Regions from separate parts of the Homo sapiens genome. Here regions 2, 3, 4, 5, 6 and 7 are each linked to region 1. The links are contacts of gene promoters, found by promoter capture Hi-C in blood cells and fetal thymus (Javierre and others, 2016). All regions are on one chromosome and are shown on one strand. Each heading gives the region's core, a stretch centred on a gene start or on the middle of the fragment in contact. The rest is flanking DNA. Distances are from core to core; before and after follow the strand shown.

Region 1 (3,547 bases), core at 248-2,747:
TTGTTTTTGTTTTCTTTGTGTGTGTGTGTGTGTGTGTGTGTGTGTGTGTGTATTTTAAACCTTTTATTGGACCCGTGGTCCAATTGAGGAAATAGGAAAAACCTGATACTGAAGGACTTTGGAAATAAAACAGGAAACATGAAGGGTGAGAAATTTATTCAGATTTCTTCATAATTCCCCCCAAAAGCTCCAACCACGTTGCCAGTCCTTGGGTGCTGCAGTTGGTCGGGGAGAGGGGCTGTGTGGAGGTCACCTTCTGGTAGACGGAGACCCGCTTTTCAGACTCTGTGGCGCAGCAGGCGGGCCAGGAACATTTGGGCCACTATTGCTCTTAGCCCTGCCGCGCCTGACTTTCTCTCCTCTACTTTCCTTCCGACCGTAGGGACAAGTGTGGGGATCCGCTTTGGGCTCCAAGGCCCTGCCCGCACTGGCAGCACCAAGCGGGTGTAGAATGACTGGAAGGAGCAGGGAAGGAAGATGGGTGTCAACTGTCCCGGCCAGTGGCTGCGTGCATGTGTGTGTGAACAGGGAAAAGGCCACCCTCTCCCATGTTTCTCCCGTCTCCTCGGTTCTCCTCGGAGACCCGCAGGGCTGCCCGAGGTAGCTCCGAGTTGCCCTGGGTCGCTGGGGCTTGGTCCGCATCCTCCTCCGCTAGTCCGCTCCCGCGTTCCACAGCGCCCCGCCGCTCGGTGTGCACGCCTGGGTGGGACACAGTAACAGCCCCTAAGCCGCCAACGCAAAAGCAAAAACAACCGTACACCGCATCGCAGTCGTAGCTCTTCTCCGCAAGGTAAGTTGTTTATTCGTCGCCGTTTTGGCGATCCTCCCTGGACAGCTGCGGCAGCGACGGCAGCTGCGCCGCGGGCGCCGAGCTCCCAGCCTCTTCCTTCCTCCGCCCTCTCAGGGCTGCCTCTCACCCCCACCCTCTTCCCTCCTATCCCCGCCTTCTCTCTTCTTGCCCTCTTGTGGGCCACGCACACACCCGGAGACACCCTCTGCACTTGGCTACTCACACTGCGGCTTAACCCAGCCGACAAGGCACGCTTGCCAAAGAGGCGCGGGTGTGTGTGTGCGGGGTCCGCGTTCGGAGGCCAAAGGAGGGTGGCGTGGTAGAGCCCTTCTCCTCCTGGCCGCGACGCCTTGCCCACTCTCCTGCCCTAATCTCGGCCTGCCAGCAAAAGTGACACCTGAGCAGGGACTGGTCCGTAGAGGCGGCAGGCCCGCTGGTCCGGCAGCTGGAAGAAAACAGAGCAAGGGGCGGGGACAATGAGGAGGAGCGGGAGGCGGGACAAGCGGGGAGGCCGCCACCTGGCACTGAGTGATGCGCCCTCTAGCCAATGAACGCGAGGAACTCCGGCGTCGGGGCGGGAGGTCGGGGGCGGGCTCAGTGGGGAGGAGGAGGCTGCAGGCGCGCAAGAGGCGGGGGCCGGGAGGAGGAAGGGGAGGAGGCGGAGGCGGGCGCGGTGTTGGCGGCGGCGGCGGCGGCGGAGGGGGGTAGGTTGTGCCCGGGACTGTGTCTGCCGAGCTCGGCGGCTGTGCCTTGGTGAGTGGAGGAGCGGCGCGGGGAGGCAGAGGCGAGCGCGGGCGATCGCGGCGGCGGGACGTCTCCGGCGGCCGCGGCACCAGCGGCGGCGCTCTGTGTGGAGAAGCAGGGGCAGCGGCAGCAGCAACAGCGGCAGCGGCAGCAGCAGCGGCAGCAGCGGCGGCCGCCTCTCCGCCGCCGGGGACGCCAAGGTGCGGCTGGTGGCACTGACATCGGCGGCCCTGCCTCTCCTCCCTCGCCCCCGGCCTTCCCCATGTGATCGGTCTTAATCCTGGCCGTGTGTGCGCGCGTGGGGCTCCATTCCGCGGTGCTGGGTCTCCGTGCCGGGGTGGGTGCTCGTGTGTGCGCTTCTCCTCCCCATCCCCCTTCCCCCAAGAATAAAAGAAGAACCGGGAGGCGTGCTCAGAAAATAAATAAATAACCACCACACACGCGCAGCCCGGAGCGAGTCGGCGGGGCTGGCGGCAGCGGCGGAGGAGGAGTGAAGGCGGCGGCGGCGGAGGAGGGACGCGCGGAAAAGGCAGCAACTTTAAAGCCAGCTCAGAGCCTAGACCTCCAGCCGAGCGGTTTGCAGCGCGGCGGCGGCGGCGGCGGCGGCGGCGTTGAGTGTCTGGCCCGCCGGTCCGGTCGGGGTGTGCAGTCGGACGGACGAGCAGCGCGTCGCTGTCCTCCGGCAGCTGGAGATGTCCGAGCCCAAGGCAATTGATCCCAAGTTGTCGACGACCGACAGGGTGGTGAAAGGTAAGCGGAGCGCCGCGGTGGCCTGGGTGCACCGTGTGCCGCAGGCGCCAGGGCAGCTTGCCTCGCCTCGCCTTTCCTCCCCTCCCCCGCCCCAGGTTCTCCTCTGTCCGCTCCAGCCGCGGACCTTCTAGGATATTGTGCAACCCGCGAACCCCGCGAACCCCCCGCCCCCGCGGCGCCCTTCCCCCACGCGTCCCACCCAGCCTCACTTGGGGCATTTTTATTGACGGGGGCGTCAGTTGGCAAATGGCTGAGCCGCGGGGAGGTGGCGGCGGGGGTGGCGGTGGTGGGAGGGGGCGCCCGGGGGGTGGTTGCTGGTAGGGTGTAGCTGCTGTGACAGAAATAGGAAGTGGGTGGCTCTGCTCACAGGCTTGCATGGGATCGGGTTTATGGTTTTCTTCTGCAGAGGGAGGGGTGATTGATGGCTTTTTAAAAATTAATACGGCATTTTTATGTGGCCGTGGCTTTCCACCGACTGCCTCACTTGGGCAGGGTTGTCTTGGAGCTCCATTGCAGCAATTCCCTCCGCGCCCCCCTCCCCCTCCCCCTCCCCCTGGAAGGGCCTGCACAGGACTCGCGAGAGAGCGGGAGAGCGTGGGGGGAGCCCGGCGCTTCCTTCCGCGCGGGGCGGGGGCGGGGGCGGTCGCTGGCTGGAGGGTGGCCGCGGGGGGCGCGGGAGGCGGGGAACGACCTGAGAGCACCAGCCGTTGCCGCCCCGGGATTTCCCCCGCACGCCCCGGGGAGAGACACGAAAACCACTTCTCCAGCCTCTCTTGCCATCCCCGGCTGTCCCCCGCCGACCTGTCATTGCTCTTAAAGGGTTCTCCACTCGTGCACACCTCCCAAGTGATAACCTCATTCCGCCTGCTTCCTCCGTGCCCTGGCATCCTTTTTGTAACGGGCTGTTGGATTCCTATTATTGCCTCCTCTTCGCCGCCTACGGGATGATAAACTCCTGGCAAGGATGCACTGAGGTTGCTGGCAAAGAGAAACTGGGATGTGCGGAGTGAGGAAGGGGACAGGCTGTGGTTGATCACTCTGTCGCACGGGAATCTATCGGCCTCCTTGTATTCCTAGGTGTAGTGGGGGAGGAACCATCCTATGAATCCTGGAAGGCTGAGGCAACAGAGCAGAACCACTTGGATTAAGTAGTATCTCACATTCCTGGGGGTCAGGACACCAAGCAAAGCAGAGATGGGCATGAGCTGTGCGGGGAGCGGGCCTCTGAAATTGGAAACAGCACTGGCTGGTGTAATGTGTGTG
Region 2 (3,605 bases), core at 507-3,006, 1.7 Mb before region 1:
GCAAGACCCTGTACCTAAATAATAATAATAATTTCCACTTCATTTTTCAATATTCAAATATTTTTATATAATTCTGCATTGTTCTGTATGTAGATCCTAATTTTAAAATTTTACACCATCATAAATGAACAAAGGTAGGAAGGAGTTTGGCTTCAATAGCTTACAGTAAAAGGAGTAAAGGAGTTCAGCCTCAAAACGATATTGTTGACCTGTTATGTTATGAAAAATAATCCAGTGTTTATACTTAACGGATGCCATCCCTTATTATTTACTATTTTCTTAGTCTAACTAAACAATCTTTATTAAAATAAGCAATGATATTTGACATGGGCCTAAGAAATATATAGTTAGCTAACAATATTGTCAGTTAGAGGGATTTCTTTTCTAAATTAAGTACAGATTTCTTCACCAAACTCCAGGATAACAGAAAAGAGGACATAAAATTTGGACATAGTTTCTGGATAAATAAATGTAAATTTAAATATAAATTATGTAACAGGAAACAAACGAAATTAAAGAAAATAAATTTTTCAAGAAAAGTAAATTTATGGATGTTAATTCTGTAACATTGTCAGGGCAAAGTTTTTTGTTTTTATTTTAATTTAAGGGTTTTATGTTTGTTTTTTACTTGTTGCAACCTCAAATGACCAAATGGTATGATGCACACTGAGATACTCAATAAATGTGCAGTGATTCTTAGCCTTTTTTCCTAGAACTTTAATATTAACATGGAAAATTCTGAAATGGACAACAAAAAGATAACACTTTGTGTATGGGGAAGAATATCATGCAGTTGATGACGGTACATTAAAATTCACACAAAAGGACATTTTGACTAGCATTCAGAAAGAGTCCATTGATTATAAGATTATCTATGAGGTTTTGGACCGGGCACTACACTACCGAATTATGGCTAACTTTGGTTTGTGATCTAGACCAAGTCACCCAATCTATCTTGGATTTTAGTTTTCTGGTTTATGAAATTAAGGAGTTAAGCTAAATGACTTGGGTTTCTTTTCGTGTATCATAATCAAAATGCTGTAACTTCTCTAGTGAATTCATAGAACACTGACTCTTACAAGTATGTCATGAAATACTTTATGCTGTGAGCAGGTATACATGTATAATATATGTATAGCTATGAACAAATAAATTTTAAATAAATGCACAACGAATTCTACAAAATGGGCTCCAACATTAACAAATGATCTGAGTTAGTCTTTCTCACAGCCGACCATAAACTATAAAACATTTTTATAAACACTATCAGCAATAAAAACGAAGTAAAATCTAGCCAAAAAATTCAATGTTCTCCAAAGTCATGTTAATCAAATCAGGTGATATATTAATGAAGTACATATGACTAAAAGGAAAAATATATGTCATTCCTGTGGTAAGAGGAAGCTGAATGTCACTAGAAATTTTTACAAGCTTTAGGAGAGGAAGAGTTCCGTTTAGGAAAATAATCATTTCAGATGATCTGAAGAAGGGTATTGGATGGAACCTATCCAATAGGTTCATCACAAAAGAGGACCTGAGAGACAAGAATGAATGGTTTCTGACTGGTGGAGAAATTTGAGGATAATCTCCCTTGCTTGAAAAGCGGTGATTAAGATTGGCACTTGCTTACAGGAGTGAAAAACAGGTAAGGGGTGCGCGCGTCTTAACACACACAAGAGGAAATACAGAGAAAAGGAAGACACAAACATGAAATGAGAATTAAATGAAATAGAATCACACTGCTGATAGAAGGGTTAAAAATCTAAAATACAACAAGAAGGGCAGGTGTTAAGCGATAAAGGGGGGCAGAACAAGTCTTTTATCCGGCCATTTAATTGGTCACCTTAAGAAAGAATCCTATCTTCCCACCGCAGCTGAGAAGACACTTCTAAGAGGTACAGCTAAAAGGTGGAGGACTGATAGACAACTTAGAGGTTGGTTTCGGGAACGATAAAACAAGTAACGGGCTGCCCGGCCTGCGCCGCGGAGTCCCGAGGAGCCTGCGCTGTGCTCCTCTCGCGGTGTCTCGTCATCTCCGGGAAGACTCGGCGCCTGGGTCCGCGCTCTCTGGGTAAGCTTTCCGGGAAGCTTTCCCGGGAGCTCGCTGGTCCTGGCCCCAGAAGCCTGCGGACCCGCCCAGGGAGGATAAGCAGCTGAAAGACCGCGCGGTGCCGCTCCGAGGCCCCGGGACGTGGGCCCATGGTCGGCCTGGCGCCACCTTTCCGGGGGAAGCCACGCGCACCAGGCATCGCACGCGGCTCTGCACCCGCGCCGCCGGACCTGAAACCCGGCGGAGGGCACACGGGGCTGCCGCTGCGGGCCCCGGACCAACCCATGCTTACTCCGGAGCCTGTACCGGCGCCGACGGGTCGGACCTCCCTGCGCGGTGTCGCCCAGCGGGTTCGTGCGAAAGGCGGGGCCGACTACACGCGGTGCCGCGCCCTGAGACCGTTTATCTGCAGTCAACGCAGCCTCCCGGCTCAGCCTGGGAAGATGCGCGAATCGGGAACCCCAGAGCGCGGTGGCTAGACCGGGCTCCGCCGCCTCCCCCACAGCCCCTTTCCTAATCGTTCAGACGGAGCCTGGTCGACTTCGCCGGAGACTGCCAGGTGAGAGGCCCCAGAGACACTAAGGGTAAAAATAAACCCAGCGCCAGCGGCGGGTACCCTGTAGGCCTGCTGGACCGGAGACGCGAGCGAGGGGCCCAGCCTTTTCTGTTTGTACACCCGGTGACGGGCGCGTGTCTGTTTACTGTTGTAAGGTGTTGGCGTGGGTTTTCTTGCTTGCTTTTATTTTAGTTCTCAGATTAACCAGAGGGGGTGTTGCCTTTGTGGACTGGGTTAGCATCCTCGAGGTGCTAAGAATCATCGTATGCTATTGACTGAAGAATATAACCTTAAGACAGCAGTAGCTGCTGTAAGAGATAAAGTAAAACATCTCAGTAACTAAACATAGTTCAGGCTTATTTCTCGTTCATGTCAAGTCCATTCACGTGTTCAGCTGTTGGCCTTCTACTCAATTATTCAGGAACCCAAACTCCTTTTATATTATGGCTTTGCTATCCCCTAAGACCTTGGAGTCCTTAGTTTCCAGGCAACGGACAGAAAAAGAAAAGCTACTAGAGGATTGCATGAGGATTGTTTCTTATGGGTGAGGACTGGAAATCACATACTATTTATGTCCACATGCCATTGACCAGACTTCAGTCACATGCCACACTGACCTGCAAGGGAGACTGGAAATGTACTATGGACCCAGGCAGAAGAGTAAACGATTTTGGTAAACACATATCAGTCTCTGACCATCCCTTAAAGGGCAGACTGCATCTTAGTCATCTTTGTTACTCTTGTGCCTATCACACCAGAGAAACTTGTTAAGGCTTTGTGAGGCCGAGGTGGGCATATCACCTGAGGTCAGGAGTTCGAGACCAGCCTAGCCAACATGGTAAAACCCCATCTCTACTAAAAATATAAAAATTAGCTGGGCATGGTGGTGCACGCCCGTAATTCCAGCTATTCCGGAGGCTGAGGCTGAAGAATCGCTTGAACCCAGGAGGCACAGGTTGCAGTGAGCCAAGATTGTGCCACTGCACTCCAGCCTAGGTG
Region 3 (3,452 bases), core at 106-2,605, 1.3 Mb after region 1:
GAACCTGGGAGGCGGAGCTTGCAGTGAGCCGAGATCAGGTCACTGCACTCCAGCCTGGGCGACAGAGCGAGACTCTGTATCAAAAACAAAACAAAACAAAACAAACAAACAAACAAAAAACACTTGCAGGCATGTTTATTGCAGCACAATTCATGATTGCAAAGGTACAAAACCAACCTAAGTGCCCATCAACTTATGAGAGGATAAAGAATATGTGGTATAAATACACCATGGAATACTATTCAGCCATTAAAAAAGAACAAAACAATGTCTTTTGCAGCAACTTGGATGGAACTGGAAGCCACTATTCTAAGTGAAGTAACTCAGGAATAGAAAACCAAAAACTGTATGTTCTCACTTATAAGTGAGAGCTAAACTATGGGCACACGAAGGTATACAGAGTGGAATAAGGAACTCTGGAGACTCAGAACGGGAAGGGTGGGAGGAGGGTGAGGAATAAAAAAACTACATATTGGGTACAATATACATTACTCAGGTGACAGGTGCACTAAAATCTCAGACTTCAGCACTACACAATTCATCCACATAACCAAAAACCACCTATACCCCAAAGGCTATTGAAATTTAAAAATTTTAAATAGAAACACTTACCAATATTTAAAACATAATTGAGGGATGCAACTCCAGACAGGATGATTAGGCAAGAGTAGGTGACATTTTAGCTGACTCCATCCAGAAATATCCAGAAAATTTTGAGAAGAATCTTAGGGGCATTGGACTTTTTCAAGAGGTCAGGGTAAAGCCAGAAAAAAAAGTGCCATTTTGCAACCATTACTTTGTGCCTTTAAAATCCCCAAAATTGTTTTTCAAACTATACTCCTTGGAACCCTAAGGAGTGCCACTAAAACCTGTGCGGGAGCCACACACAGCTGGAGCGGGGCTGGAGACTCAGGCAGGGTTCTTTGTCCCTGACATCTCTGTTAATCAGAGCAGCTATATGCCCTCCAACTTTCTATATTATAGCTTCCATGTAAGCTTTTGCCTAAGAAACTGTTTTGCAACTGAGAAAATTTGAAAACCACTGCCCTAAGCTGATGTAGCCTAGGAAATGTGAAATTACATTAACGTAGAGAATGTTTTATCCAGGGCCTTCTACGTTTCAAAGTACAGCCATTAGTTCATCAGGATGTACATAAACTAAACAAGGACATAGAATGTTTTCTCCTTCCTCCTGGATTCCTGTCTCCCTTTAATTGAGAGCCATTCCTCAAGGAAAGAGGATTTACTTAACTGAACGATATATATTGATTATCTGAATTATTTTTTAACTCATTATACAATAGTTTATGTTTTCACACTTTGCCTAAATATTTTTTAAGAATCCCTACCCTGTGTAACATGCTACAGTTGCTTCACAGCTGTGCTAAAATAAAGTCAAGGAGGCAGCCAAATAGAACTTCCTGTTAGCTGGTGATATGGCTTGGATGTTTGTCCCCTTCCAATCTCATGTTGAAATAATGCCCAGTGTTGGAGGTGGGGCCTGGTAGGAGGAGATTGGATCACGGGAGCAGATCCTTCATGAACGGTTTAGTACCATCCCCTTGGTGATGAGTGAGTTCTTGCTCAGTTGGTTCATGTGAGATGTGATTGTTTAAAAGACTCTGGGACCTCCCCCTTCTCTCTCTCTTGCTCCCACTCGCACCATGTGACATCATCTGCTCTCCCTTTGCCTTCTGCCGTGATTATAAGCTTCCTAAGACCCTCACTAGAAGCAGATTCTGGAGCCATGCTTGTACAGTCTGCAAAACTGTGAGCCAATTAAACCTCTTTTCTTTACAAGTTACCTAGTTTCAGATATTCCTTTATAGCAATGCAGAAACTGACTAACACAGAAAATTAGTACTGAGCAGAGGGATGTTGCTATAAAGATACCTGAAAATGTGAAAGTGGCTTTTAGTAATGGGCAGAGGTTGGAAGAGTTTGAAGGACTCAGAAGACAGGAAGATGAAGGAAAGTTTGGAACGACTTAGAAAGCTGTTAAGTGGTTGTGACCAAAGTGCTGATCGAAATATGGAGTGAAAATGAGCCTGATGAAGTAAGGAAGACGGGAGTGAGGAACTTATTGGGAACTGGAGTTAAGGTCACCCATGTTACACCCTAGCAAAGAATGTGGTTGGGTTGGATTCATGACCTAGAGATCTGTGGAAGTTCGAATTTAAGAGTGATGACCTAAGATATTTGGCAGAAGAAATTTATAAGCAGCAAAGTGGTCCAAGATGTGAACTGGATGCTTCCAACAACCTATGATTAGATACAGGAGTGAAGAAATGACTTAAAGTTGGAATTTATAATGAAAAGGGAAGCAGAGCAAAAAAATGGAAAAATTTGCCTCCTGGCCATGTGGTAAAGAAAGCAAAAGCATTTTCAGGAAAGGAATCCAGGCAGGCTATGTTGTAGAGATTCGCATGACTAAAAGGGAGGCCAAGTGCTAGTAATATCCAAGACAATGGATGAAGGGCTTTGAAGGCATTTCAGAAGTTTTCAGGGCAGCCTCCCCACACAGGCCCAGAGGCCTAGGAGGAAAGCATGATGTTGGTGGCCAGGCCCAGGGCCCCCTCCCCTGAGCAGCCTTGGGGCACTGCACCCCACATTCCAACTAGTCTAGTTTCAGCTTCAGCTCAAAGAAGCCGGGTTCAGCTTGGACCGCCATTCTGGAGGGTGCAAGCCATAAGCCTTGGTGGCTGCCATATGATGTTAAGCCTGCAGATGCTCAGAATGCAAGCATGAGGGAGGCTTTGTGGCTTCCACCTAGATTTCAGAAGATGTATGGAAATGCCTGGGTGCCCAGCAGAAGCCTGCCATAGGAGCGGAGCCCTCATAGAGAAGCACTATTAGGGCAATACTAAGGGGAAATGTGGGTTTGGAGCCCACACACAGCATCCCCACCAGGGCACTGCCTAGTGGAGTTGTAGGAAGGGGAGGCCTAGTGGAGTTGCAGAATGGTAGATTCACTGGCAGCTTGCACCCTTTACCTAGAAAAGCTACACTCTCTCAACTCCAACCTGTGAGAGCAGCCACATGGCCTGCACCCTGCAAAACCACAGCAGTGGGGCTTCCCAGAACCTTGAGATCCCAAGCCTCACACAAAGATGTGGGACGTGAAGTCAAGAATTATGTTAAAGCTCTAAAATGTAATGCCTGCACTGCTGGGTTTCTGACTTGGTTAGGGCCTGTTATCCCTTCTTATGGCCAATTTCTTCCTTTTGGAATGTATACCCAATGCCTCTACCACCATTGTATCTTGGAAGTACATAACTTATTTTTTATCTGATAGGCACATAGTTGAAAGAACTTCATCTCCAGATAAGACTTGGGACTTGGGACTTGAGACTTGGGACTTTTTAGTTAGGCTGGAATGAGTTAAGTATTGGGGGAACTATCATGAATGCATGACTGTATTTCAAAATGTGAAAAGGTCATGAGATTTGGGG
Region 4 (3,626 bases), core at 853-3,352, 1.8 Mb before region 1:
CAGGACAAAAGAAAACTCAATCAGCCCGTGTTTGATTCACTTTGAATTTCAAATTGAAGAATTCCAAATAAAACTTTATTACCTCTCAGTTTAACTATGGTTTGTCTAATAGTTCATTTTAGGACAAAATGGGGAGTAAACTTCTCCAACTCTGAGGTGAAATACACCATCTTCATGACCAAACACGGTGAATCACGTTGCCATTTTTCATTCTTCACATCTCTCCTGTCTTAACCTCCTTTCCACTTCCAGCTGTGCTTGGTTTTTGTGTATTTTTGTAATAGGATGAATGTTGTTTTCATTTTCTTTCTCAGAGGTGCAAAATGCAGGAGCAGAGAGTGTGGATTCTCAGCCAGGTCCTTGGCACGCCTCCTCAGGCAAGGATGTGCCTGAGTGCAAAACTCAGTAGACTCCTCTTTGTCACTTCTCTGGAGATCCAGCATTCCTTATTTGGAAATGACTTTGTTTATGTGTCTATCCCTGGTAATGATGTTGTAGTGCAGCTTAATTTCAATTCAGTCTTTACTTTGCCACTAGAGTTGAAAGATAAGGGAACAGGAAATGAATGCATTGTGGTAATTTAGAATGGTGATAGCAATACCTTCTTCTTGCATATGGTAATACTTTTAAAAGTTGAATTGTTTTATTTATTTGTATATTTTGTAAAGAATAAAGTTATTGAAAGAAATGTAAAGTTATCTACATGACTTAGCATATTCCAAAGCATAATACATACATTAATATAAAACATCATTTTATTAACAAAATTGTAAATGTTTTTAATACCTTACACATTCAATAAATGTTTAGTAGTTCTGAATCACCGCTCTTCTATATAATGTTAATGGTTTCTTGGTGAGGTAGTCTCTCTTGTTGACTCAGTATTTTGCTATGAAAATATACACAAGTTTTCTGGATCTGGATTTAAATTCTTAAAGGATAGCAGAGGCTATGTCCTCTTAACTTTCCAGTTCTAATATTCCTTTTACTGTAATAACCACAGAAGTTCTTTCTCACATTTCTGGTAACCTACCTATCCCAATCCCTATACAAACTCTCTAAATTGGTTGGTTTATTATAGACTTTGTTTTTCATTGCCCCTCACTCCCAGCCTGGAGGAACCTATAGATCATTTATTCTACCTCTTCATTGTAGACATAAGGAAACAGTACCAGAGTTTTTATCAAAGTAAAGTTTTCTAAACCTGGAGTCCCCACAGATAGATAAAGCATATATGGATGGACTTCTTGTAATCTGTAAAATTTTTGAAATTTTTTATGAACTTTTTTGTGTGGATTTATTTGGGGGGAGGGGATACTGGGGTTTATACTTTGTTTTATCATATTCTTAGAGGGGCCCGTGATCCTGTAAAAATCTAAGAACTATGGTTTTAGAGGATATTTGATATTACTTTTATACCATATGACTTTGAAAAACCACTTAAAACAAGTTGCATTAGGTTATAGAACAGAGGTAAAGTGATTTCAAGTCATTCTCGGCTCTTTGGTAAGATTCATTCAAAGGGAGAGATTATTGATTGCATCATATCTAGTATTTCAAAGTCTGTGGATTGGATATTTCTCCGTATCTTAACATACCACCAAAGGAATTAACAAAGACTAAGGGGAAACTATCCCTTCCTAAAATCTTTTCCCCCAGACCTGTACCTTGAGAGTCTGTCTTCTGCTTTCCACCCTTATCCAAACAAAACACTAACATGCCTGCAGGTTTGATTCTTTATGTCTGCTTCTCCACTGAACAAAAGTAACCCAAAGTAGTGGTTGTTTACCTGATTGATAAAACTACATTAAAGCCATTAAAAATCTAGTTGTCAGGTAGCCAGCCTAGTAGAATATTGCTTAACTTTTGAATTTGGGTGTCCATTTTATTCCTCAAATTTGGGAAGTTTGTGGCCATTATTTCTTCAAATAAGCTCTGTCCCTTTTGCTGCCACCATTATCCCACACCCTTAATATCCCCACACATTTTTCTCAGATTTCTGCTTATATAAGTTAGAAAACTCAAGTGGTTCTTTTGATTGTGATGCAGCTCCTCATGGGCCACACTTTGTACCTCACATTAGGGATCTGCTGGGACTTGAGTCTAGTTATAGGTCTAGGAGCATAGAGGGGTGGTGGGGGTAGGTCCTGAGGAGAATCAGCATTGTCTTGCTTGGCAGCTGCCTCAGGGGAGGCCATTATTATTTCCTCAGGCAATGCAGGGTTAACCCTTCAGACAAAGGTGGAAAGGCCATTACCAACCCCAATGAGGTTGGAGAGGCCACTACAGCTGGTAAAAAAAAAAACTCATCAGAATGTAGGAACTGGCCAGGCATGGTGGCTCACACCTGTAATCCCAGCACTTTGGGAGGCTGAGGTGTGGGACTCTTGAGCCTAGCAGTTCGTGACCAGCCTGGGCAACATAGTGAAACCCCGTCTCTACAAAAAATACAAAAATTAGCCTGGCATGGTGGCTTATGGCCATAGTCTCAGCTACTCGGGGGTGCTGAGGTGGGAGGATCACTTGAGCCCTGGAAGTCAACGTTGTAGTGAGCCGAGATCATGCCATTGCACTCCAACCTGGCCAACAGGGTGAAACTGAAAAAAAAAAAAAAAAAAAAAAACTCAATGTTCCTGGCTTCAGGGTCTTCCCACACGTCCCCATCCCAACTTATAGAATCTCACTCTCCCAGTCACTGTGGCTTATTTTACCAGTAGACACACTGAGGCCTTTTGTAATTGCACCAATCAAATGATGAAGACTGGTGTTTGATTTTCAGCAATTTTAGCCTCATGTCTACAGGAGAGAAGATCCTCTTTCAGGGCACGCCTATAAGCTCTTAGGTTACTTATGTGGAGCTTGAGCCATGAATTTGAATCCCTGAAGTCATCCTTTTTTTTTTTAAATAATTTTGCCCAACAATATTAGAAGCAACCAACCAACATTGGTATATTTCTTAGTTTTCCATAAATATTTGAAAGTATTATAGGGCCGGGCACAGTGGCTCACACCTGTAATCCCAGCACTTAGGGAGGCTGAGGCAGGCGGATCACAAGGTCAAGAGTTTGAGACCAGCGTGGCCAACATGGTGAAACCCCGTCTCTACTAGAATACAAAAATTAGCCAGGCATGGTGGTGTGTGCCTGTAATCCCAGCTATTCGAGAGGCTGAGGCAGAAGAATCGCTTGAACCCAGGAGGCAGAGGTTGCAGTGAGCCGAGATCATGCCACTGCACTCCAGCCTGGGCGACAGAGCAAGACTCTGTCTCGGAAAAAAAAAAAAAAGTATTATATATAGAGTCACTTAAGTTCCTCACCTCTAAGAAGTGGTTGATTAGGAGTATCCAATGCAGACATTTTGCATACCTCTATGAACAGTTCATTTCTTGGACAATCAGTGCTCTCTGTACTATTAAAAGGAGAGCCAGGCTGGGCGCAGTGACTCATCCCTGTAATCTCAACACTTTGGGAAACTGAGGCAGGAGGAGCACTTGAGACCAGGAGTTTGAGACCAGCCTAGGCTACATACTGAGACCTCATCTCTACCAAAAAAAAACAATTTGGAGGGCTGAGGCAGGAGGATGGCCTGAGCCCAGGTATTCAAGGCTACAGTCAGCTATGATGGTG
Region 5 (3,519 bases), core at 115-2,614, 1.2 Mb after region 1:
AAATGGGCAATCCCATATGTCCAGCTTAAATTCAATACAGTAAATAAATAAAGAGATTGTTAAAACGTGAAGTGCAAAATTATATCATTTGCCTTATATATAAAATAAGGTGAATTCATAAGCAAAAAAAAAAATTGTCCAGGCATGGTGGCTCATGCATGTAATCTCAGCACTTTGGGAGGCCGAGGTAGGAGGATCACTTGAGCCCAGGAGTTCAAGACCATAATAATGCATCAACAATAAATCTAGACATCTCAGTGAGCACAGCTTTTCTGCATACATACAGATAGGAGATGTTTTTTAGACAAATCACTGCTGTTTAGAGGAAATTCATAAAGTTGGCACAAACAGAATAGCTCTCTGTCAGGTTAACTTGACATACACAGCCTTGGGGGTATATGACTTTGTGCATTGAACTTTCAAACAAACTGAACGTTGAAACAACAGCACCATTTTTTATATGCCTAATTAGGAATTTTGTATATCATCCAACGAGCAACTGTAAGCTTCCACTTGGGAAAGCTGCCTGCCTTCAATGGTTGTATTTGATAGTGCCATATCTTTGTATGTGCAACAGTGTTCCTTTGGGCAAATATTTATATATTTATTAAATGTTTCTCTCATAGTTATATATAAATTAGTGGGAAAAATTATCAAAACATGTTTGATTTTATAGAACTCCCATTCAAACTTGCTCAGAAGGAGGGGTTCAATACAAGGGCACAGAATTATCCTACAGTACACAAGTACCGAGGCCTATCCTCAGCAGCATCTGGAACTAAGAAATTTATCAGGATCCCATTCATTCAACAATTTATTCAGCAAATATTTATTGAATGCTTCTGACAAGCACTAAGAAATTGCAGTGAATGGGCCAGGCATGGTGGCTCTCATCTGTAATCCCAGCACTCTGGAAGCCCGAGCCGGTTGGGTCACTTGAGGTCAGGAGTTCAAGACCAGTCTGGTCAACATGGTGAAACCCCATCTCTATTAAAAATACAAAAATTAGCCTGTTGTGGTGGTGGGTGCCTGTAATCCCAGCTACTAAGGAGGCTGAGGCAGGAGATCACTTGAACCCAGGAGGCGGAGGTTGCAGTAAGCCAAGATCGCACCATTGCACTCCAGCCTGGGTGACAAGAGCGAAACTCCATCAAAAAAAAAAAAAAATCCAGAAAGAAATAAAGAAGACTTTGCATAATGCAATGAATGACACCCTTAACAACATCTTGATTAGAGAAGAAATTGCAGTAAGCAAGCCAGACAAGCACCCTTTCTTTGTAGAGCTTACATTCTAGTGAGAAAGACCATGGGAAAGAACAAATTAGAGCCATTGTGATTCAGGCTATGAGGGAAATAAACAGCATGAGGAGACTGAATATAACTGGGGAATTACCTTGTACAGTGAGTGGTCAGGCAAGGCCTCTCTGAGGAGAGGAGGTTAGAGCTGAGATGCAGGGAGAAGAATGAATCCCACATACAAAGAGCATATATACATATACACATATATACATATATACATATACACATATATACATATATACATATACACATATATACATATATACATATACACATATATACATATATACATATATACACATATATACATATATATACATATATACATATATATATTCCCCACCCCTATTTCTACTTCCCAGAGTTAGTCATTCTCAAAAATGTATATATATACACATACATATACATGTGTATATATATACATTTTTGAGAATGACTAACTCTGGGAAGTAGAAATAGGGGTGGGGAAATAGGAGATATTTTTTTCTCCACAACCTTCTACAGAGTTTAATTTTACAAACCAGTATATATTAACTTTATAATAAAATGTCTTTAAAACCACATTAAGGATGATAGACACATACTCTGACTCTCAGGGAATGACATCACAGAGGGGAACAACCCTGCTTTTGGTTGCTTAGAAGGAGACAGAATCTACAGCCTACTGGATAACTCTTCTGACCTACTCACAGTTTTTAGGCTCTGGAGGAAATGCTGTCATGACTGTCATTTTTCTGTCAAAATCCATCTAGGTGTCATAATTGGCAGAAGTGTCTGTCACTCCAGCTGTGTCCCTATGTACATAGATTGAAAATGATCACCTCCAGTGAAATATTGGCACAAATTTCAGCATCTCTCCTGCCACTCTGTAGAAGAACACAGTCTAAAAGTGAAACCTGTAGATGCCTATTATATGAAGCTTAGCATCAAAAGAAAGGTCACCAAGACAACTGACATTTTATTTTTTTCATATTTCTGGGGTCACATCTTCTTGACATCAGGATAATTGTTTGAAAACTGAGAAATCCAATGTGGTTTCCTACGTGGTGCCAAGTATCTCATATTGGCTTATTTTTTTTTCTGGATTGGTAAATATTTTGGTGAAATGTAGACACAACTGATCTGATAGTAACATTTGCTCCATGAAAGTACAAAATTTGATTTATTTTCATAACTTTCACATTAAGACAAGCACTGGAATATGAATCAGAAGACTACATTCCTGCCACTTACAAATTGTGCAACCTTGGGATAGGAGTATTCTTAAATCTCTGCTTAGTCTTCTCCACAGCTGCAAAGATGTGACAGTGAGCAAATAACAAGAAAGCTCTTTGAAAAGTAAAAAAGGGTTATAAAAATGAAAGCATTATTAAATAACCTCAGCTTGATTGAAAATTAAAAATAACATGTTATTTCTTTTGTATTATAATAATAATATCCTAAGTTAGACTTTAAGCTCTATAAAAAAGGTCAATACTGAACTGGCTCACCATTGCTATCTCCAAACCCAGCACAGTGTCTGACATATATAGGCTATATCAGTCAGGGATCAACCAGAAAAGCAGTACTACTATGACTAATGTAAAATAAAGTAGCTAGATCTTTCCTCTGCATCTGATGTGGGGCCTGAGATTGCAATATGCAAGCTGGAACACTAGTTGGGAAGAACAGCTGGATGCAAAGTGGGAGAGAGCAAGGATAGACTGGAACCAGTATCTGTCTCTCACTACCTCCAACCTCGACAACACAGGTAACCTGCAAGAGAAGCTAATCCCCATTGACATAGAGCTAGGAAACAGAATGTCCAGAGCAGACAATCCAGCAAGAACTGGAGAAGCTGCAGACCCAGGTGCTATCCACCTGGCCACCCAGGTAGGCCAAGCAGATCAGTGACAGCATGCACAGGTTGCCGTCATGACTGGCACCATGCACCAAATTTCAGAGCATGCAAAAATGGCTGTGCTTCTTTTCTGTTTCCCAAATCTTATGAAAATTTCTCTTGTGGACAACCCTTACCCTGAAACATACAGGAAAGTGAAGTCTGGAAAACATACTTCCAGTTTAGTGAAGCTGACATAATACAAAGCCACACATAGGCACTTAGTATGTTCTTCTTAAGTAAATATATTTCAATATACAAATATAAAATTTTAAAGTAAAAATGAATATGTATGAGATTTATATGGATATGTGGAAGAAGACACAATGTATAGTCATCAC
Region 6 (3,434 bases), core at 759-3,258, 1.5 Mb before region 1:
CATACCGTTTTGGCCTGGTATTGCTATTTAAGTGAAGACATCCAAAAGGGAGAAATATGACAACTGGTATTTGCTTACTTGCCAATGAACTATTACATAATGAATTTTAAAAAATAGAAACATTTCTAATTTCCAGTTGTAAGGGAATGAATGGTTAGGCCCATTGTGATGTTAAAACTAAAATAAGTATTTAGTTGTTAGGGAAAAAATGAGGATTATATTAAAATATGTAAAGTACTTAAGTAAAAGAAGTGGGGAAAGCCAAAATTTTATGGAATTGCTGCAATTCTGTCAGAGTAAACTGGTAGGATCAAAAGATCTGATGTTTATAAACACTTGATGTGAAACGTTTTTCATTTTATTTTACTTTTGCATTGCTTCTGATGTTTAATGTTCCTTTTTAATGTTTATTATTGTTACCATGCTTTCTATTCAATTGCATGTTTTCTACTAAAACTCTTAATATTTAAAAAATATTAAAATCTCACAATCCACTCAACAGAGCGTCTGTCTGACCATAATTCAATGAATCTCTAGATTTGGAAGAGAATTTGTCATCTAGTTTATCCCTTCTAAATCTATCGACCACCCACCACCAGAGTCTTTTTGTTTGTTTTTTTCATCTTTGAGAGGGGCTATCACTGAAGCACCACATTTGTTTGGGGAAAGCATTCTTTAATTTAAAAAAAAATCTTCCTTAGACTGAAATTCACCTCCCAATAACCTTCACTAATTTGGTTAATTTGTTATCAGTTCTATATTTTAGTCTACACAAATCTTATTTTTCTTCTACCAGACAGCTGTGCGATTGCTGTATTTTAGGTCAGGTACTACAGATCTTTAGAACGTTCCCGGCGAAGCAACCCTATTTACCTCAGAATTATCTTAATTCATGTTTGCACTCCCTGATAACCTAGGACATAGGAGTTCAATACTTGCTGATTCCTTCACCATCCTACTCGGTCTGAGTTCCGTTTAGAAATATCCCCCTTACAATGAAATGCTCATAACTCAACACAATCTCCCAAGTGTTGACTGCATTCTGGAGATTTTCATCCTTTAGATGTGAAATCCTCATGAGTTGTGTGGGTTAAGTGAGGGTCCTTAAGTATAGAACGTTACATATATTCACTAAATTTCATTTTCTAAGATTTCACTCCTCATACCGGCCTTCGAATACTTTCTTGGGTAAGGTATCTTTCTTCCAACTTAAGTTACCGCAGCGGGCCCCGGGACCGTAGAAACGGAGATGACCTCAAATGCCACCTATGATAGGTCAATTCTAACCTGAGGGAATGGAGGTTATCTCCTAATTTCGTTACTAAATAAAACGGTCATATACGTGTTACGTGTAAGTCTATATTTCTCTCCCACACACTCCCACCCACATGCTGAGGGTACAACCCAGCCGGTAGCTGGGGCTGCCTGTTACATGAGGCCTTAGATAACGACGACTTAGCCCGCTTTAAAATAAACAAGTACGCTACAGAGAGCGATGAGCAGGACAGGAGATGAAAGAGACTGGCCTGTTCCCAACTCAGCACCTTCTCTGCAAAAACCTGGTATCTTGCCACGGAATGACACCGGAGACAACTCCGAGGACAAAAGACCCTGGGGCATCAAGCACCCGGAGACTGCCTCACAGGCGTTCCCCAGGCAGCTGCGTCGGCGCGCGCCCACCTTCCTCTGCGCGCGGGGATCACGTGCCAGGCGCCGAGCTCCGTCCCGCCCCTTGGCCCTAGGATTTTTACGCCTCCTTCCCCCGCTTGGCGAACGTGCAAGGATGGGGACTGGCTGATGGGGGAGGATTACCTGTGAGCCTAGCGAACCCGGTAATGCTTTCAGGGACTGGGAGCCGCTTCAGATATGCAGGGAGCTGCACCTTCACGATACGGGCCACGCTCTCCAGCACCATCCTGGCCAGCGGCGTCCACTCCTCTCCCGAGCCCCCTCCGCTCTGGCCAAGCTGCCGCGCCTGCGCCGGGAGCGGAAGCGGCCGGCGGGCACTGGCGGCCTCGGCCTGGGCGGCGGGCGGGGCGGCGGGCCCTGGGAGGAGAGGTGACCTGCCGGGCGCCGATTGGCGGCGGGCGAGTGACGTACGCTCGCGGCGGACTGCCGAGGCGCGGGAACTGGCGGGTAGCGAGGCCCTCCTCGGAATCTCGTGTGAAGGTGGCCCTCCTCTTGGGCCTTTAACGTCTGTAGATGCTGGAGACCAGCAGAAAGGATACTGTGTGCGATGAGATAAGCATGTGAGAATGCTTTCTAACCGAAAGTGCCTTTCAAAAGTGAGTCTCTTGCTGTCTCTACTTCGTCCCCTCTCGCCCCGCCTCTTCCCCTACAGTTTGGGTGCTGTGGCCCTAGGGTTGCATACTCGCCCATGAGTATCCTCCCCCTACCCAGACCCCAGTGCCTAATTTTACTCCTTCACCCAAAGGCCAGGCTTAAAAAAATAAAAATTAAAATATTTTAACTAAACCAGGAACTGTTTACATCTCTGCCCCTTGGCAACTTAACTGCAGCCCTAGCTCCAAAAACCTCTGGTTTTTGCCACTCAGAGAAGATTCGTAGTAGTCCTTCCTTAGATATTTTCAGTTCCTTTTCCTTCGGGAAAGTGGTAAAAGAATCCAAAGCTGGCCGGGCGCGGTGGCTCACGTCTGTAATCCCAGCACTTAGGGAGGCCGAGGCGGGTGGATCACGAGGTCAGGAGTTCGAGGCCAGCCAGGTCAAGATGGTGAAACCCCGTCTCTACTAAAAATAGAAAAATTAGCCGGGCGCGGTGGCAGGTGCCTGTCCCAGCTACTCGGGAGACTGAGGCAGGAGAATCGCTTGAACCAGGGAGGCGGAGGTTGCAGTGAGCCGAGAATGTGCCACTGCACTCTAGCCTGGGAGACAGAGCAAGACTCCGTCACAAAAAAAAAAAAAAAAAAGAATCTAAAGCCTTATGTATGGTTTTCTTTATGTTACAAGGCTTCTGCTGAAGTCTAGCGCAGGGGGTCCTTATGGCTTCCCTAGGCCACACTGGAAGAAGAATTGTCTTGGGCCACACATAAATACACTAACACTAATGGTAGCTAATGAGCTAAAAAAAAATTTTTTTTCATAAAGTTTTAAGAAAGTTTACAGATTTGCATTGAGTGGCATTCAAAGCCATCCTGTTGGGCAAGCTTGATCTTGAAGGTTTTAATTTTGTTGTTGTTGTTGTTGTTACAAGGTTTCGCTCTATCGCCCAGGCTGTAGTGCAGTGGTCAGATCATAGCTCACCGCAGACTCTAACTCCGGCTTAAGGGATCCTTCTGCCTCAGCCTTCCAAGTAGCTGGGTTTACAGGCGTGTGCTGCCACACCCAACGAATTTTAAAAATTTTTGTGTGTATGTAGATGGAGTCCCATTATATCGCCCAGGCTGGATAGTTGTTTTTATTAATATCTCTAAAAG
Region 7 (3,744 bases), core at 871-3,370, 1.5 Mb before region 1:
AGGCATAAGCCACTGTGCCTGGCTTGATTTTATTGTAACATTCTAATAAAGGTAACTGGAGGGAGAATTCCCCCCGCCCCCAAATATTTTTTAGGCAAGCTTGACCCAGTAAATAAACTAAGTTTACTTCCTGTACTCTCTCTTATTAGTGCAACTATTTCAGATCTTTCTCACATTTCTTCAGGATTATTTCATTAACATCCTGTTTTTCTTGCCTCTAGTCTCCATCCCAATACATACTTTGGGCACATGCTTCAACATTGCTATCACAGTTACCTTTTTGCCATCAAATCTGATCAGGCCATTTTTGTTAAAAATTCAATTTCTCCATTCTATCCCATCCCCTTCAAAATAAAAGGCCCTCAAGATCTCCAGTCATGTCTTTCAAATCTATCTTGTCTCCTCATCTTTTCTGTCTTCTCATTCTCTCCTTGCCGCTCCCCCCGCCACCTCAACCTCGCAATACTGCAGCCAAAGTTTTTCTAGTTTTAAAAACTTATCAAGTCATCTCTGAGACTTTGCATGCTGTTTCCTCTTCCTAGGAGCCTCCCTCACAATTTTTTTCCAACTTTGCCTTGCTCCCTTTTTTTCATTTGTTTTAATACAACTCTCTTCCTCAGAGAAACTTTCCCTGACCACCGCCAGCTGAGTTCAGTACATTAATAGTGCTCTGTGCACACATTTATGTCACTGAACCCACTCTATGATGTTGTCTGATGCTTACTGGTCTCCTCAAGAGACTTTCTTATAGATGACATCTGTGTCTTTTATGTATCTTCAGTGTCTAGCACCTAATAGTAATTCGATGTTTTTTAAATAAATAGAAAACTAGGAGTGACTCTATCAACAGATCTCTACTACATTAACATTCTTTGTCCTAAACCTGAAAGACTCCCACTTGCCTATTCAGACCTAAGTATCACTGATTGACAAACCGAATGAAAGTCTCTTTATCGTGCCTCACCCTACACCAAAAGCAGTATTACAAATATATATTTTTTTAACCTGTGTTTGTAAGTAAACCAGCTTTTTGGAAGACAGAATGCACTATTGTGGTCATTTCACATAAACAGAATCAAACAGTATGTGGCCTTTTGTGTCTGGCTCTTTCACTTGACAGAATGTTTTAAGGCTTCAAGATACATTTTGTAACATGTATTAGTACTTTGTTCCTTATAATAATAATAATATTCCATTATACACATATATCACATCTTCTTTATCCATTCATCAGCTGATGGACATTTGAGTTGTTTCTACTAAAAAGTAGAATAGCCCTACTCTGAACATTTGTGTATATATATGTTTTTGTGTGGAAAAATGCTCTATTTTTATCTCAAAGATTTGTGCATGCTTCATTACATGCCAAAAGCCTTATTAAGGCCAAAATGACATCTTAGCATGAAATAAAGTACACTTTCTTAAACCATATTAATTTGACTTAATGAGATTCTGAATTGTTAAGTATAGAAATCAATTTGATTTTTGTGCAAACAATGTAAAATAACATTTGGTTGACCTGGGCTCCAAATTACTTGGTCCAGGCAGAATATGTAAATGAGCATTCTGAATATAAAATCTGGACCGTAGCATTTACAATTTAATTAAACTAATAAAATGGTATACACTGTACTAGAGCCAGTGTCTTTGGCAAGTTATAATATTCTGTAACAAAATTAAAGATACATGAAAACATAGATACAATATTAAGTACATATATATAAAATCTGTTAATTATGTTTATTCATCAATACATTCTAATTAACCCCTTACTCTCAAGTTATTATAATAACGTGGCCTCACTGAAAAATTCATGTAATAAGACCCTGGCACACCACCATTATTCAGATTGGTAGATTAATTGCCCATTTACTAGTAATTTTCTCTGAGACAGGGTCTTGCTCCATCACAGGCTTGAGTATAGTGGCACAATCACAGCTCACTGCAGCCTCAACCTCCCAGGCTGAGGCAATCCTCCCACCTCAGCCTCCCAAGTAGCTGGGACCATAGGCGTGTACCACCATGCTCAGCTAATTGTTTTATTATTTTTGTAGAGACTGGGTCACCCTATGTTATCCAGGCTGGTCTCAAACTCCTGGGCTCAAGTGATCGTTCCACCTTGGCCTCACAAAGTGCTGGGATTACAGGCGTAAGCCACCAGCCCAGCTTTAATTTTCTTGATCCTTTCTATTTTCTCATGTTTTATGTCAATTCATGCAAGATAATCTGATCTACTATATTTACAAAGTTTTTAGGACTTCAAAATAGTATTTATTAAGGAAGGGATTATTTTTAGTTAATTAAATTTTCAACATTTTTGTACCTTTATTAATTTCTAAATGTAAATTTTTCTTTCAGTATTTACAGCCATAATTTTTTTCTTGTTAGCATTATTTCCGACTGCAATATAAAAAACATGATTATTTTCCTTTCTTGTTTCAAATGAGGACATCTCTACCATTGTAATTCAAGTAAGTTAAATGAATGAAAATGTTTTAACTTTATTTGCAACTGTAAAGTGGGCTCTCTGTAACAACAGGTACATGAATAATGTTTTAAAATTTAACTTAATCTTAGCCTGCTTTATCCTAAGGCATCAAAATGCTTCTAGGCTATGTTTCTTTTGATTTTAACCATGGCAAAATATAAGCAGAAATGTAAGTCCACTTATGCAAATACAAACTTGTAAACAGAAAGCCCAATCAACCAATGAATTTACTTCACTGCCTAACAATAATGAGTTTGTGATTACACAATCACTTGCCTTTATAAGCATGGATAATCTAGAACTCCATATATATTAGTTTTGTTTTTTGTTCTTGTTTTTTTTTGAGACAGGGTCTCACTCTGTCGCAGTGATCTTGGCCCACCGCAACCTCCGCCTTCCAGGCTCAAGCGATTCTCCGGCCTCAGCCTCCCAAGCAGCTGGGATTACAGGCGCCCGCCACTACGCCCAGCTAATTTTTTGTATTTTTAGTAGAGATGGGGTTTCACTGTTTTGGCCAGGCTGGTCTCGAACTCCTGATCTCATATGATCCACCCGTCTCAGCCTCCCAAAGTGCTGGGATTACAGGCGTGGCCACTATTACTACTATACATTTGTTTCACACTATGGCCAGTTAATGTCTGACTGGTTACTTTAATAACTGACATTTATACAGCACTGTAGAGTCTCCAGTGTCCTTTCACATATATTATGACACTTTAACCACACAATCACCCTGTGAGAAAGGACAGTCATTATTACTTACTTTAGCGGTGAAGAAACGGGGTTAGAAGATAACTAACCAGGCCAATATCAAGCAAATGGGAAGCAATAACTAATCTGGGTTCCTCCCTCCATCTTCATGCCTAGTCCTGTGCTTTTAGTATATCTGGCTAGCTATGAGAGAGAACACAGATTATTCAGGGAGGAGGGAGGGGCCAGAGGTGTTACTGAGGTGAGCCTCATGAGCAGTTAGGCCATGAGGTAAGCACTTCAGTGCTTTGCTACTCACGGGGTGGTTCAGACGAGAAAAATCTGTATCACCTGGGAGCTAGTTAGAAATGTAGGCTCTCAGGCTCCACCACTGCCCTACCAAATCAAAGTCGCATTTTCAACAAAACCCCAGGTGGTTCCTATGGACACTAGTTTGAGAAGCACTGCTTCACTAGTGACACTACATGGTCACTTGAACAGTATACATTAGACTACTTATATTCATCATTGTTGACGTGTTAAGTTTTTATTAGGTAAAACTTTCT

Evidence for each region. Contacts are between HindIII fragments. The CHiCAGO score rates a contact against its expected background, and 5 or more counts as called.
Region 2: a contact is called between a fragment that was not itself captured here and the fragment with the promoter of PPP3CA in region 1, in 4 of 17 cell types (fetal thymus, naive CD4 T cells, activated CD4 T cells and 1 more). The highest score is 11.8, in fetal thymus.
Region 3: a contact is called between a fragment that was not itself captured here and the fragment with the promoter of PPP3CA in region 1, in 1 of 17 cell types (naive CD8 T cells). The highest score is 6.7, in naive CD8 T cells.
Region 4: a fragment that was not itself captured here is called in contact with the fragment with the promoter of PPP3CA in region 1 in 1 of 17 cell types (fetal thymus); the score reaches 6.1 in fetal thymus.
Region 5: a fragment that was not itself captured here is called in contact with the fragment with the promoter of PPP3CA in region 1 in 1 of 17 cell types (naive CD8 T cells); the score reaches 5.6 in naive CD8 T cells.
Region 6: the fragment with the promoter of CISD2 here is called in contact with the fragment with the promoter of PPP3CA in region 1 in 1 of 17 cell types (fetal thymus); the score reaches 6.6 in fetal thymus.
Region 7: a fragment that was not itself captured here is called in contact with the fragment with the promoter of PPP3CA in region 1 in 1 of 17 cell types (fetal thymus); the score reaches 6.2 in fetal thymus.

What each region holds. Positions count from the first base shown.
Region 1 is chr4:101,345,476-101,349,022 of GRCh38, reverse strand. PPP3CA (protein phosphatase 3 catalytic subunit alpha) reads left to right here and starts at 1,497. Exons shown (of 14, transcript NM_000944.5): 1 at 1,497-2,284. The coding sequence starts at 2,227. PPP3CA-DT (PPP3CA divergent transcript) reads right to left here and starts at 1,246. Exons shown (of 2, transcript NR_033874.1): 1 at 1,014-1,246; 2 at 140-699. RefSeq lists silencers at 1,262-1,871, 2,342-2,701, 2,722-3,111. The HindIII fragment of the contact is 5,765 bases long and covers 1-3,547 here.
Region 2 is chr4:103,075,188-103,078,792 of GRCh38, reverse strand. SLC9B2 (solute carrier family 9 member B2) reads left to right here and starts at 2,032. Exons shown (of 12, transcript NM_178833.7): 1 at 2,032-2,609. BDH2 (3-hydroxybutyrate dehydrogenase 2) reads left to right here. Exons shown (of 10, transcript NM_020139.4): 10 at 1-1,201. RefSeq lists an enhancer at 2,033-2,152 and a silencer at 2,263-2,372. The HindIII fragment of the contact is 645 bases long and covers 1,434-2,078 here.
Region 3 is chr4:100,085,985-100,089,436 of GRCh38, reverse strand. No RefSeq gene overlaps it. Among named protein-coding and RNA genes, the nearest start is that of DDIT4L-AS1, 100 kb to the left of the region's middle. The HindIII fragment of the contact is 714 bases long and covers 999-1,712 here.
Region 4 is chr4:103,103,005-103,106,630 of GRCh38, reverse strand. CENPE (centromere protein E) reads left to right here. Exons shown (of 49, transcript NM_001813.3): 49 at 315-820. The coding sequence ends at 409. Among named protein-coding and RNA genes, the nearest start is that of BDH2, 5.0 kb to the right of the region's middle. The HindIII fragment of the contact is 4,331 bases long and covers 1-3,626 here.
Region 5 is chr4:100,102,883-100,106,401 of GRCh38, reverse strand. LOC107986232 (a long non-coding RNA gene) reads right to left here. Exons shown (of 3, transcript XR_001741515.2): 3 at 1,940-2,590. Among named protein-coding and RNA genes, the nearest start is that of DDIT4L-AS1, 85 kb to the left of the region's middle. The HindIII fragment of the contact is 1,712 bases long and covers 509-2,220 here.
Region 6 is chr4:102,867,566-102,870,999 of GRCh38, reverse strand. CISD2 (CDGSH iron sulfur domain 2) reads right to left here and starts at 2,008. Exons shown (of 3, transcript NM_001008388.5): 1 at 1,813-2,008. The coding sequence starts at 1,915. It also overlaps a transcript of UBE2D3 not described here. RefSeq lists silencers at 1,748-1,867, 1,898-2,187 and an enhancer at 2,418-2,557. The HindIII fragment of the contact is 11,662 bases long and covers 1-3,166 here.
Region 7 is chr4:102,829,007-102,832,750 of GRCh38, reverse strand. All of the region lies in intron 1 of UBE2D3-AS1 (UBE2D3 antisense RNA 1), which reads right to left. It also overlaps a transcript of UBE2D3 not described here. Among named protein-coding and RNA genes, the nearest start is that of UBE2D3-AS1, 2.8 kb to the right of the region's middle. RefSeq lists enhancers at 3,300-3,379, 3,420-3,479. The HindIII fragment of the contact is 4,037 bases long and covers 102-3,744 here.